Linked DNA regions of Homo sapiens: region 2 is linked to region 1. Evidence: promoter capture Hi-C in 16 types of primary human blood cells and fetal thymus (Javierre and others, 2016). All regions are on one chromosome and are shown on one strand. The core of a region is centred on a gene start or on the middle of the fragment in contact, and the rest is flanking DNA. Distances in the headings are between cores, read along the strand shown.

What was found. The method cuts DNA at HindIII sites, captures the fragments that hold promoters and counts their contacts. A CHiCAGO score of 5 or more calls a contact.
Region 2: a fragment that was not itself captured here is called in contact with the fragment with the promoter of HAUS7 in region 1 in 4 of 17 cell types (M1 macrophages, M0 macrophages, monocytes and 1 more); the score reaches 8.1 in M1 macrophages.

Annotation. Positions count from the first base shown.
Region 1 is chrX:153,468,070-153,473,463 of GRCh38, reverse strand. HAUS7 (HAUS augmin like complex subunit 7) reads left to right here and starts at 2,888. Exons shown (of 10, transcript NM_001385482.1): 1 at 2,888-3,014; 2 at 4,203-4,318. The coding sequence starts at 2,907. RefSeq lists enhancers at 2,359-2,653, 3,167-3,266, 3,417-3,596 and a silencer at 2,527-2,836. The HindIII fragment of the contact is 16,714 bases long and covers 884-5,394 here.
Region 2 is chrX:152,946,668-152,952,061 of GRCh38, reverse strand. The region is part of intron 18 of ZNF185 (zinc finger protein 185 with LIM domain); the gene reads right to left. Among named protein-coding and RNA genes, the nearest start is that of PNMA5, 45 kb to the left of the region's middle. The HindIII fragment of the contact is 1,593 bases long and covers 1,885-3,477 here.

The DNA of each region.
Region 1 (5,394 bases), core at 1,639-4,138:
CTCCCCAGGTTCCCTGGTTCAGGGCCGGGAGTCGAAGTGGCCCCGTGGAGCAAGGCCTTCTAGGGCTTTAGCTCTGACAGCATTCTAGGGCCTAGGCGCCCCCAGGTGGGGTGGCTCCCCCTCAGGTCTAACTCCAGCCCCTGCCAGAAGCAGACCCGCCTCTGCAGAGAGGAAAGCCCTTGGACTTCAGCTTCCTTTGATTCGCGGTGTCTTTGGGGGATTGGGGGGTCCCTGGTTGATTCCCGCTGCACCGTGGGGTCTGCCCTTAAGGTCATATGAAGAGCAGGGCCCGGATGCTCTGAGGACTTTTTCAATACCCTCCACAGGTCAGGGAGGCTGCCCACTTGGTGAGCTCAACTGTTTGGCCATATATCTCTGGGCCCACCACACAAACTGAGAGGTCTCGAATGCCACCAGCACCCGCCAGCCCATCTCTGGCACAGCGGGGCCAGTGCCGTGAACCAGTCTCATTTTCCAACGTGTTTTCCAAGCACTGACACGGCTGAGGCCCTGCTGGGACGCATGGCCAACTTTCCTCCATGACCAGGACCCCCCAGCTTCCCCGCCACATCCACAGCTTCCCCCCAACATCCCTCCTCCAGGTCAATGGGTCCTTCAGCCACATTTTTGGCTCCTGACCCACCCAGGCCTCCCTCAGAGAACCTGGGGTCTCTGGGTTGGAATGTCCCTTAGAGATGTGCCCCCTCCCTCCCCCATGGTAGGACTCAACCCTCCACATCCCCGCCCACCCACCTCCCTGGGCTTGTAGACCTTCTAGGACCGGGAGCTCCCTTCCTCTCCTGGCAGCCAGCTGGTGTTCAGACAGTGATTTCTGGGAGGAGTGCTTTCTTGGACTGAGCTTGAGTCCACATTTCCAGAAGCTTCTACCTCTGGGCCCCTTCTTTCCCCCTTCCTGAGAGGCCCAGCAGCCTCTCTGTTCCCTCCCCAGCCTCCAGCTTTTCCGGAGGAAGATGCCTGGGAGGTGCTATGATTCTGGGGGCGGGTGGTGGGTGGCAGGTGGTGGGTGGTGGGTGGTGGGTGGTGGGGTGGCGTGGGCAGGGAAGCTGCAGCCTGCTGCTGGGTCTTCAGCGACCATCTCCAGGGGCTGAGGGCTGGCCAACAGGTTCTCCATGAGGGGGATGGCCTCCATAACCTCTCAAGATGATCTTCGCCTCTCAAGGCCCTGCCAGTTCCTCAGGGTCCCATAGACTGAACTGCTGAGGTTGGGGAGGCCTGTTGAGCACACTGGCTCCGTGGAGCTGGGTGGAGGAGGGAGATTTTCTTCCAGAGTACACAGGAGCTGGTTTCTTCCCGGTCCTCAGGAGCAGAGAATATGGGGAGGGTTGGGGGAGGCTGCCACACTGCCGTGGTTTCTTCCGCCAAATTCCCCAGTCCTAGGAAAGATCCACAGAAAAACCCACAAGAATTTGAATGTCTGAGCTGGGGCTGTGATTGAGATGAAATTTTCTAAAAAGAAAGAAAGAAAAACAAAAACAAAAAAGAGGGAAAAAAACGCTTAAAAAAAAATCCCAAAGCCTTTGACAGCCCTCAGCTACCAGAAGGGCCTGAGGCAGCAGCCACGTGGAAGGGTAGAGAGCAACCTTGAGGCACTTCGCTGGGCCTGTGTCGGGGCCTCCCAGGCTGAGGTCCCTTCCTGTGACCCCCGGACTCCTGCCCGCTCCCTCCTCCCAGGACGGAGTGAAGTCCCCTCCTGTCACTTGGATGACTGCAGTTGCCTCCCAGCAGGTCCCTGGGTCTCCCTGACTATAGACTTGCCCCCTGATCCCACCCTCCAGGAGATGGCAGGGTAGGGCACAGAGGAGGGCACAGTGGCAGCTGCCTGCTGCTGTCTCCTGGCTACTGGGCACAAGCCACCCTCCAACTCCTTCCTGCCTTGCCCAATCAGCAGGTCCCTGGGTAAGGGGCATTCAGTGAACTGGGGGCTTTGCAGGTCTGGGGGAGGAGCGACTGACATATTTCATTGCAGACGCATTGAGTTTGAGGGTCCTGAGGGATGTAGAAAAATTTGTTAAGTAGACAGGATAGGAAGGAGCCACAGGTAGCCCCAGGAGCCGTGAGGGGAGCAGGGCCCAGCATGTATTACAATAGTGAGCATTTACGTGGTTCTTCGCATGCGCCGGGCACTGTTCTAGGGATTCCACAGGAATTATTACCGCCTGCCATCCTCATTAGCAACCCAGTGGGTAAGGTGCTCTCATTAGCTCCATTAGGTGAGGGCAAAGAGGCACAGAGAGGTTAGGTAACTGGTTCAAAGGCACACAGCTGGTGAGTGACAAGAAATTTCCTTCTAACTACAGCGTGAGCATGGTGAAGAGAAGACGGAGCCCCGCGCTGGGAGAGGAACGCTTCAGTCCGAGTTCCATTCTGCACCCAAGGCTCCCCTTGGTCCTCCTGGGAACCAGGGTGCCCCTTAGTGGTGGTGGCCCAGGAGAACCCGACCAAGGCAGGAGCGCCCCCTCCTGGAAGAGCCTCGCTTCAACGCATCATCATTCCCGGCCGGCAGCAGGGGCGACGCCAGCAAGGCCTGCGACTCAGAGCCAGCTTGGCCCGTTCGCCCCGCCCCTTCCCGGTGTCCGCCCCGCCCCTTTCCCGGTGTCCGCCCCGCCTCCTTCCCGGTGTCCGCCCCGCCCCCTTCCCTGTGTCCGCCCCGCCCCCTTCCCTGTGTCCGCCCTGCCCGCTTCACTGTGGTCCTGCCTCTGGGTGGTGCCGGGGCGGGGGGTGGGAGCCCGGGGCCCGCGCAGGCGGAGATGTCGCCCAATGGGAAGGGTCGGTCGGGAAGGGGGTGGGCGCAGGCGGGTGGGCGGGAAGAACGCTGGAGGTTGATTGGCGGTCTTGCCGGCCAGTGAAGCCAGGGCATGGGCGGGGCGCGGCTCGGAGCGCGAAACATGGCGGGGCAGGACGCTGGCTGCGGCCGTGGCGGCGACGACTACTCAGAGGACGAGGGCGACAGCAGCGTGTCCAGGGCGGCTGTGGAGGTGTTCGGGAAGCTGAAGGTGCTGTTGGCCCAGAAAGCCACTCCAGGGCGGGGGACCGGGGAGGGCCCCGCCCGAGGCCCGGGAGGGCTTGCTGCGGAAGTCCGCGGCGCCACGCGGCCACCGTCGCCGGTTCCGGCTGCGCCCTGTTCCCTTGCAGCAGGGGGTGCTTGTGGATCATTCATCTTTGCCCTTTGGTGTGCCCCAGGCCTTCGTTCTTGCTGTCTCCACGGCCCGTGCCTGGTAGTTGGGGCCAGCACCGCCTGTGGAACTGCAGTACCCGCGCTGGGCGCTCGGAGCAAGTGCAGACACAGAGGACCCAGGCCTGGCCTTAGGGATCTTGCGGGGTCTGGGGGGACAGATGGGCAGAGCCTCGTGCCACTCTGTCAAGTCAGCGAGACTAGGGCTTGGTGTCAGTTGGTGTCAGATGCCAGGGGTGATAGCCTCCAGAAGCCCTCTACAGCCCCACAGGACAGAGCCCTCACTGCAGCAGTGAGGAAAGCTGGCCCACGAGGTTAGGGAGCTGTCCCAGGTCCCCTCGGCCCGCTCGCTCCTCCCCCCAGACACTCCCCCATCCTGTCCGCGACTGGCTCAGTGGTCCCTCTCCCTTTCCCTCTCCCCTTTCCCTCAGTCCCGAAACCTAGGACTCTCTCTTAAGTCTTAGTCTCAGGCGTTGCTCCTAGGTCCTGCTGCCACAAGAGCCCAGAGTGGGAGTACTTGAAAGAGGTGGGGTCTGCATGCCGCGGGAGATGTGGGGTTAAGAATGGGGGGACTTGAACTCTTGGCAAGATGGCAGGACGCGGGTAAAGGAAAGGGTCCTGGGAGCTTGCAGATGTACACTGAGGACTGGGCGCGGCGGCCCACGCCTGTAATCCCACCACTTTGGGAGGCTGAGGTGGGCAGATACCTGAGGTCAGGAGTTTGACACCAGCCTGGCCAACATGGTGAAACTCCGTCTCTATTAAAAATACAAAAATTGTCCGGGCGTGGTGGCGCATGCCTGTAATCCCCCAGCTACCCTGGGAGCTGAGGCAGGAGAATTGCTGGAACCCAGGAGGTGGAGGCTGCAGTGAGCCGAGATCATGCCACTGCACTCCATCCAGGCTGGGCGACAGAGTGAGACTCCGTCTCAAAAATAAATAAATAAATAAAATGAAATGATGTACACTGGGACTTTCAGTGAATGTTGCTTTCCTTTTCCTTGCTTAGGACCTAAACTGCCCCTTCCTCGAGGGTCTGTATATCACAGAGCCAAAGACAATTCAGGAACTGCTGTGCAGCCCCTCAGAGTACCGCTTGGAGATCCTAGAGTGGATGTGTACCCGGTAATGCATCAGTTTCTTCCTCTTCCCACCTGGGGTGTGCATGGGCGCCAGCCAGCCCCACCTGGGGAAGATGGGGTTTGTGGTTACTGTGAGTAGCTGTCTTCCCAGAGGGCTCCACCCCCTAGCCTGGACCCTCGTGAGAACAGCTGTGTAGGTAAGGAGTACTGGTGACAGGCATGATCAAACTTGGGGCAAAGTGGCCCCTGGCGGTGCTGGGCTAGTCCAGCCACCCCTTTGCTGCAGTGCTGAACTTGCCCTCAGCGTTTGCCTTGCCTTATGAGTTTGGAGGTTCAGGACTGGCAGGCACCTGAGAAATGCTCCATTCCAGTCCTTTCCTTCTCAGACCCGGAAGCCAAGGGTCAGGCTGGAGGCATGAACAGTCTCTGGTCTCCCAGTGGAGGAGTGACAGGCAGGGCCAGGGCGTGGGCTCCTGGCTGGGTCTCAGCTGGCCAAGTGGTCCTCATGCAGTGTCACCTCTTGTCAGCTTCTGTGCCGTGACCCGTTTCCCAGTCCTCTGGTGCCTTTGGGCCAGGGTGTAGCATGGTGTGTGCCTGGCACCCTATGAAGCCCATGGTGACAGGGTGACTTCCTGAGTGATGGTGGAGGAAATGATCCAGAGTGTCCCATTCCCAGGGCAGACATCCTTCCCCTGGTGACGTAGTCCCTGAGCTGAGGGTCTGTCTCACTGCCTCACAGCTGTGAGTGGAGAAGGCTTTCCCCGCCTCCCACAGAGCACAGGCTCCTGTGGGATTGGGTGTGTGCCCAGGCCATGCTCAGGAACAGCTGTAGTCTGTTGGTACAGGAGCCTCTCGTGAGTCCAGGCCCGGGCCTCCCCCTCCTCAGCCTGCGGCCTGCCTACCCTTGCTGCTTGAGGAAGGGGCCTGGGCGGGAGCCTGGCAGTAGAGCAGTGGGGAGCCAACCTGCATCCAGCCGGTCTGGCCCGCCAGGACCAGAGACATCAGCAGGACGCCCAGCTGGATACAGGCCCCCAGAGGAAGGAGGAGGCGTTTTTGTGTTTGAGCCCTTGCTGTTCCAGAGGCGTCTCCTGCCTCTGCCTTCTAGGCCCTTCCTCAGGC
Region 2 (5,394 bases), core at 1,432-3,931, 520 kb after region 1:
ATTATAAAAATTTAAATTTGCTTTTAACCAAACTGAGTCATTATTCTGGCAAACTTTATTTCAACAGTAATTATGTTTTATAATATGTAAGCTTAAAGGCAGTTTCTAAAATCTTTTTGGTAACTTAAAACCTTAGACTTATGCTGAATTAAGTTAACTAAATTCATTAAATATCATTTATAAAGAAGATAAAATACTTAGTCACTAGACCTAAATTTAAGTTTATATACTTTTTGCTTTTTTTATGGTACAGTGTGACTACATATGGATCTGTTAAATGTGTTCATTTGTCCACATTGCAAAATGGTACTATAAAAAGTATATAACAACTATAAAAAGTTATGAGATGTATATTCATAAGCTTTACTAGTCTGCTACAAAATGCTGGTATATGATATTTCAAAATTACCTACCTCCTGTTTTCTCTGTGAAAGAGAAGTTATTAATGGTTAAAATTATAATAAGTAAATAAGTGTGTGTGTATATATATATATAAACTGCTAAAAGTAATAATGGCAAAAATGGCAAAGGGAAACAACTTTGTATGCAAATATGCTTTTCCTAAGGAAAAAGAGAATAGCTTTGTCCCAAATTAAAATGACAAATAATTTAAAAATGTGTGAGACAAAATGTAAACAAATATCTTTAAAATTAGAAAATGTTCACAGAAAAGGAATTTTATTTGTCATGGTTAAAACTTTTATTCAGTGTATTTATAAGATTTTCAAAAAAGAACTAATATCAAATATTATACTTGTATAAAATTAAAATGTTGGTTTCTCTGTTAAAATAACAAAATTTTCTTAGGCTAGGTGCAGTGGCTCACGCCTGTAATCCCAGCACTTTGGGAGGCTGAGGTGGGCAGTTCACCTGAGGTCAGGAGTTCGAGACCAGCCTGGCCAACATGGTGATCGCGCGACTGCACTCCAGCCTGGGCAACAGAGCAAGACTCCATCTCAAAAAAAAAAAAAAAAAATTCTTGATCATTGGTCTGTCCCTAATAAAAAGTTATAAATGGTCTGTTTTTCTTCTGAGTCATCTGCCTAAGAGGCAAAGATTTTATGTCTTATCAAAATACTGTAATGCCCTATCTGTATGTTCAGTTTATTATGTCCTTAGTTATTTTTTTAAAGTCTTTTCAATTTTAAAGGAACTGAAGATTCTTTACAACCATGTTACCTCATATGTTTACTTGAAAATTTTTACAACTCTGATTCACTAGCTAACCAAGTAGTATTTCTCGCTAACCCATAATGCTATTCAATCAAATGTTCGAGAACTCCTGACAACTCTTAACATTTGCCTTCCCACAATCAAAACTTAAATATATTTTATACCTAAAACTGGCTTTGGGATTTGCCAGGGACCTTCTGGAAAATCTCAAAGGATTAGTTCTTTCACCTTGTAACAAGAAAGGTGCAAAAACTAATTAGTCTTATTTAATATTGTATAAATTGCATTGGAAACATTGTCAAATCAAAAAAAAAATGCAGAACCTTCCCTAAATTAGTCTATAATGGGTAAAATGTCCTTAATATAAATATTTTAGAAATTCCATAGAATTCCTAGCGGGGTTTCAGTGTCCTCAGTGTACATGAGATATTGCTCTTTATCAAAGCCCCAGTGCTGCTTTGCCTTATATTAGATAAGAACAATACAAGGTTATCAATCATCATTTCAATTATGGGAAATTCACATTGCTCACTGATGGAATATTGTTAATATACAGATGTTTAGGACCTTTCCTGAACTGCCAATTTGATTTTATTCTGCACCCAAATCTCATGGTTATAAATATGTTCTTACTAGTTTATTTATGTTTTTCTCACTGGCTTGAAGCTTTCCCTTATATAAAAGGATCATTGCCACTAATGTTATTAAGCTTTTGTTAGAACAAGTATTCCCCACATGTGGAATTCTACCGCTTCTTTCAAATGACTAAGGAATCCATTTCCCCAGTAAAGTCATCCAAGAAATATAATGAGTTCTTCCTTTATCCCCCAAATTACATTGTCCTTATCATCCCCAGTCGTCTGAAATGATGGAAACAGTGGAGTATTAAAGTGAAAACTTGCCAACTGATGAAAAACTCAATCTCCCATGGCCTAAGGTTTTACCCTTAGCACTGACTGTCCTCTGGTCCTCTCGTGCTGGGTCATACGTACTCTCCCTCCATATGATATAATAACTGGCCCACCCATGAGATCTCCCTAGTGTCTAGACTCTCAAAGATTCTAATCTGGTCAATTCAGACATTTAAAAATAATGACAAGGATTTTTTTTAATTTTTCCATCTACTCTCCCTCGAAGTTCTGCTACTATCGTTGCCTACATCTCTGAAGGCTCTCACTCTGCCTGTCTCTGCCCTTCTTGGAACTCCAGGCTAGTTATCCACTAGGAGAGCACATCTAGTGGCTTTCTTCCTGGCGTGTGCCCAGACTAGGGCTGAGGGAATGCTTGCTACTTAGAACTATTAGCAGTAAGCAGCCCTTAAGCCCCTGGCCCACAGACTCTAAATGCTGCCCATCAGGTGCCATGACATAGTTGACCCTTCCTGATGAACCTAGCCTACTGAGATGCCATGCCAGTGACCAGACCCAAAGACTGCAAATAGAGAACCCCAGGGGGCCCGGAAAGGGGATTTGTCTACAGTCGCACCCCAGCATGCTACAGGATTTAGACCACTAAGAGGAACAGGAGAAGAGCACTTGCAGAGTGCTGCTGTCTGCCTCAGCAAAACAGCAGTGTGCCAGGGCAATCCAGCCAGGCCAGCCTAGGTAGGGCCTCCACCTGAAAGCCAGAGGCTTGCCTCAGGTGCCCTTGTCAGCTTGGGATCTCCACGGACCAGGCATTTGCTCAGTCAGTTGCAGGCAGTATAGAGGCAGGTTAGAGATACTTTGGCCACCACCTAAGCCAGGAGGGGTCACATACTCCACTCACTCGACCAGAAATGTGGCTTTCTAAATTGTCACTTCCCTCTCCGTCACTGCTCTCCCAAGTCTTACCTGTCATCCAATTTGGGATCTCTTCTACTTATTTTACAGTTCTGTCTCCATCTCCACAGCTAGTCCCCTAGTCCAGGCCCCATCATTTCTTACATGGAGGATGCTGTAAGCACTTCCTCTTCTCCCTGCTCCACTCTGCCCACTTCAGTCACTCTTCTCACTGCCACTGGAGATCCCATTGCAAAGCAATACTCTCGCCATATCACTCCCCTGCTTCAAACCTTCCTGGCTCCTCTTTGCCCTCGAAAGAAAATCTAAAGTCCTTGTTATGGCATAAAGTTCTGATCCTGCCCATCTGTGTCAGGGGTCCCCAAGACCATCCCTAGGCTTGGTGATTCACAAGAAGAACTCACAGGACACATCACATCATCACACTCAAGGCTATGGTTTATTATAGTGAAAAGATACGAAGCAAAATCAGCAAAGGGAAAAGCACACAAGGCAAATTTCTGAGGGAACCCGGGCACAAGCTTCCAGAGTCCTCTCCCAGTGGGTCACACAGGATTCACTCAGTTCCCCTCAGCAGTGAGTTGTGACAACAAGTGTGAAATGCTGTCGACCAGGGCAATTCATGAGAGACTCAGAGTCCAAGGATTTTATCGGGGACTGGTCACGTAGGCACCCTCTGCCCAGCCTTTACCTAACATGCACACGTTGCTTTCACCTATAGGAAACCTTCCCCATTATCTTGTAGCTGTAATTATCTGCTCACCCCTCCCACATCCATCACGTCACAGCCAGTTTCAGAGTGTGTACCCCATCAACTGCACCTGCTTATCCTCCGCTCCCTCCTCAATCCATTATAATCCAACTACAGCCTTTCCCACTGCCCCAACCTACTCCCCTCAAGGCAGTCATGAGTTCTACATAGCCAAATCTGATGGGCCTATTTCAGCATCTACAGAGCACTGGAAAGTTAGCTCAGCGTGGCTTGGTTTCCATGACGGTAGTCTTTCCTGATTCTTCCATTTATCCAAAATTTTCCTTCTCAATACCTCTCTGTAGCTCCTCTTCCTCCTTAAGACCTTTTGGAATTATTTTCCAAAATTATGGTCCATCTGCCTTTGCTTCTCTCATATTTTTACTTCTTTTCATTTTATATATTCAGCTAGGGTTTTAGGGGATCAATAATTAATATCCCCTCTTTTTTTCTTTTTGAGACAAAAGAAGAGCAGAAAATGGAGAGAAATGTCAGCTGATGAAGCAGCTTCCCTCAGCATCCCTGAACCACGTGGACTCACCCACCCAGCCAAGGGCCTGGCTGGACAACTGTCCCTGGAAGTCTGCAGAGAAAAGCCGAGAATACATGCTTTGTACACACTGCCTTCCAAAGGCATTCTCCAGGCAACCTCATGCATTCTCTTTAGTGACTTCCTATGAGCTGACAACTCCCAGCTCTCTAGCCCCAGGTCAGATCTTTGCTCAACTCCACATTTGTTTACTCAGTAGCCTACTGGACATCACTGGCTGGAGCCCCTACAGGCACTTCTCATTCGGCATGGCCCAGTGACCTTCTCATCTCTGTGCATCTCTCAGCGGGCCTGCCCCCAAACTCCTTACCCTCAGCTAGTTCCTGTCACCACCCATCCAATTGCCTAGCCCTGAAATCTGGGGAGCAACCTTGGCTACCACTTTTCCCTCACCGTTATCTTTATTTTTTTTATTTTTATTTTGGAGACAGGATCTTGTTTTGTTACCCAGGCTGGAGTACAGTGGCAGGAACATGGCTCCCTGTATCCTCGACGTGCAAGGCTCAAACAATCCTCCCACCTCAGCCTCCCAAGTAGCTGGTACTACAGGCATGTGCCACCACACCTGGCTAATGTTTTTAAATTTTTTGTAGAAATGGGGTCTTGCTGTGTTCCCCAGGCTAGTCTCAAACTCCTGGGCTCAAGCGATACTGCCACCTCGGCCTCCCAAAGTGCTGGGATGACAGGTGTGAGCCACCACGCCAAGCCCGCTTTTACCTTTAATAATTCAAAAATACTTGCAGCCTCATCACCTTGCCCCTGGTGTAAGCAAACAGTCTCCAATATGGCCTCCTGCCTTGTCTCGTCGTATACTCCCCTGGCCTGGTCCTCCACAGGGCAATGGAGGGATCTTCTTTGGACTCGAGTCTGGCTGTGGCACTCTCCTGCAGGAAAACCATCGGTGGCTCCCAAGGCCCTCAGGATGTGGGTCACACTCCTCAGCCTAGGAGCAGGTGCCTGCCCAGCCCCTACTTGGTGCTTCCTGCCAAGCCAGGCTGGATTAACCCTCCTTTGTGATGGCTACCTGACTGGATGTTCCCTATACACTTTGTGAGCCTCCACTCGGAATGCCTTCCCAAGCACGTCTGGCACATCTGGCAAAATCTCCCTCAGCCTTCCAAACCCAGCTCCAACATCAC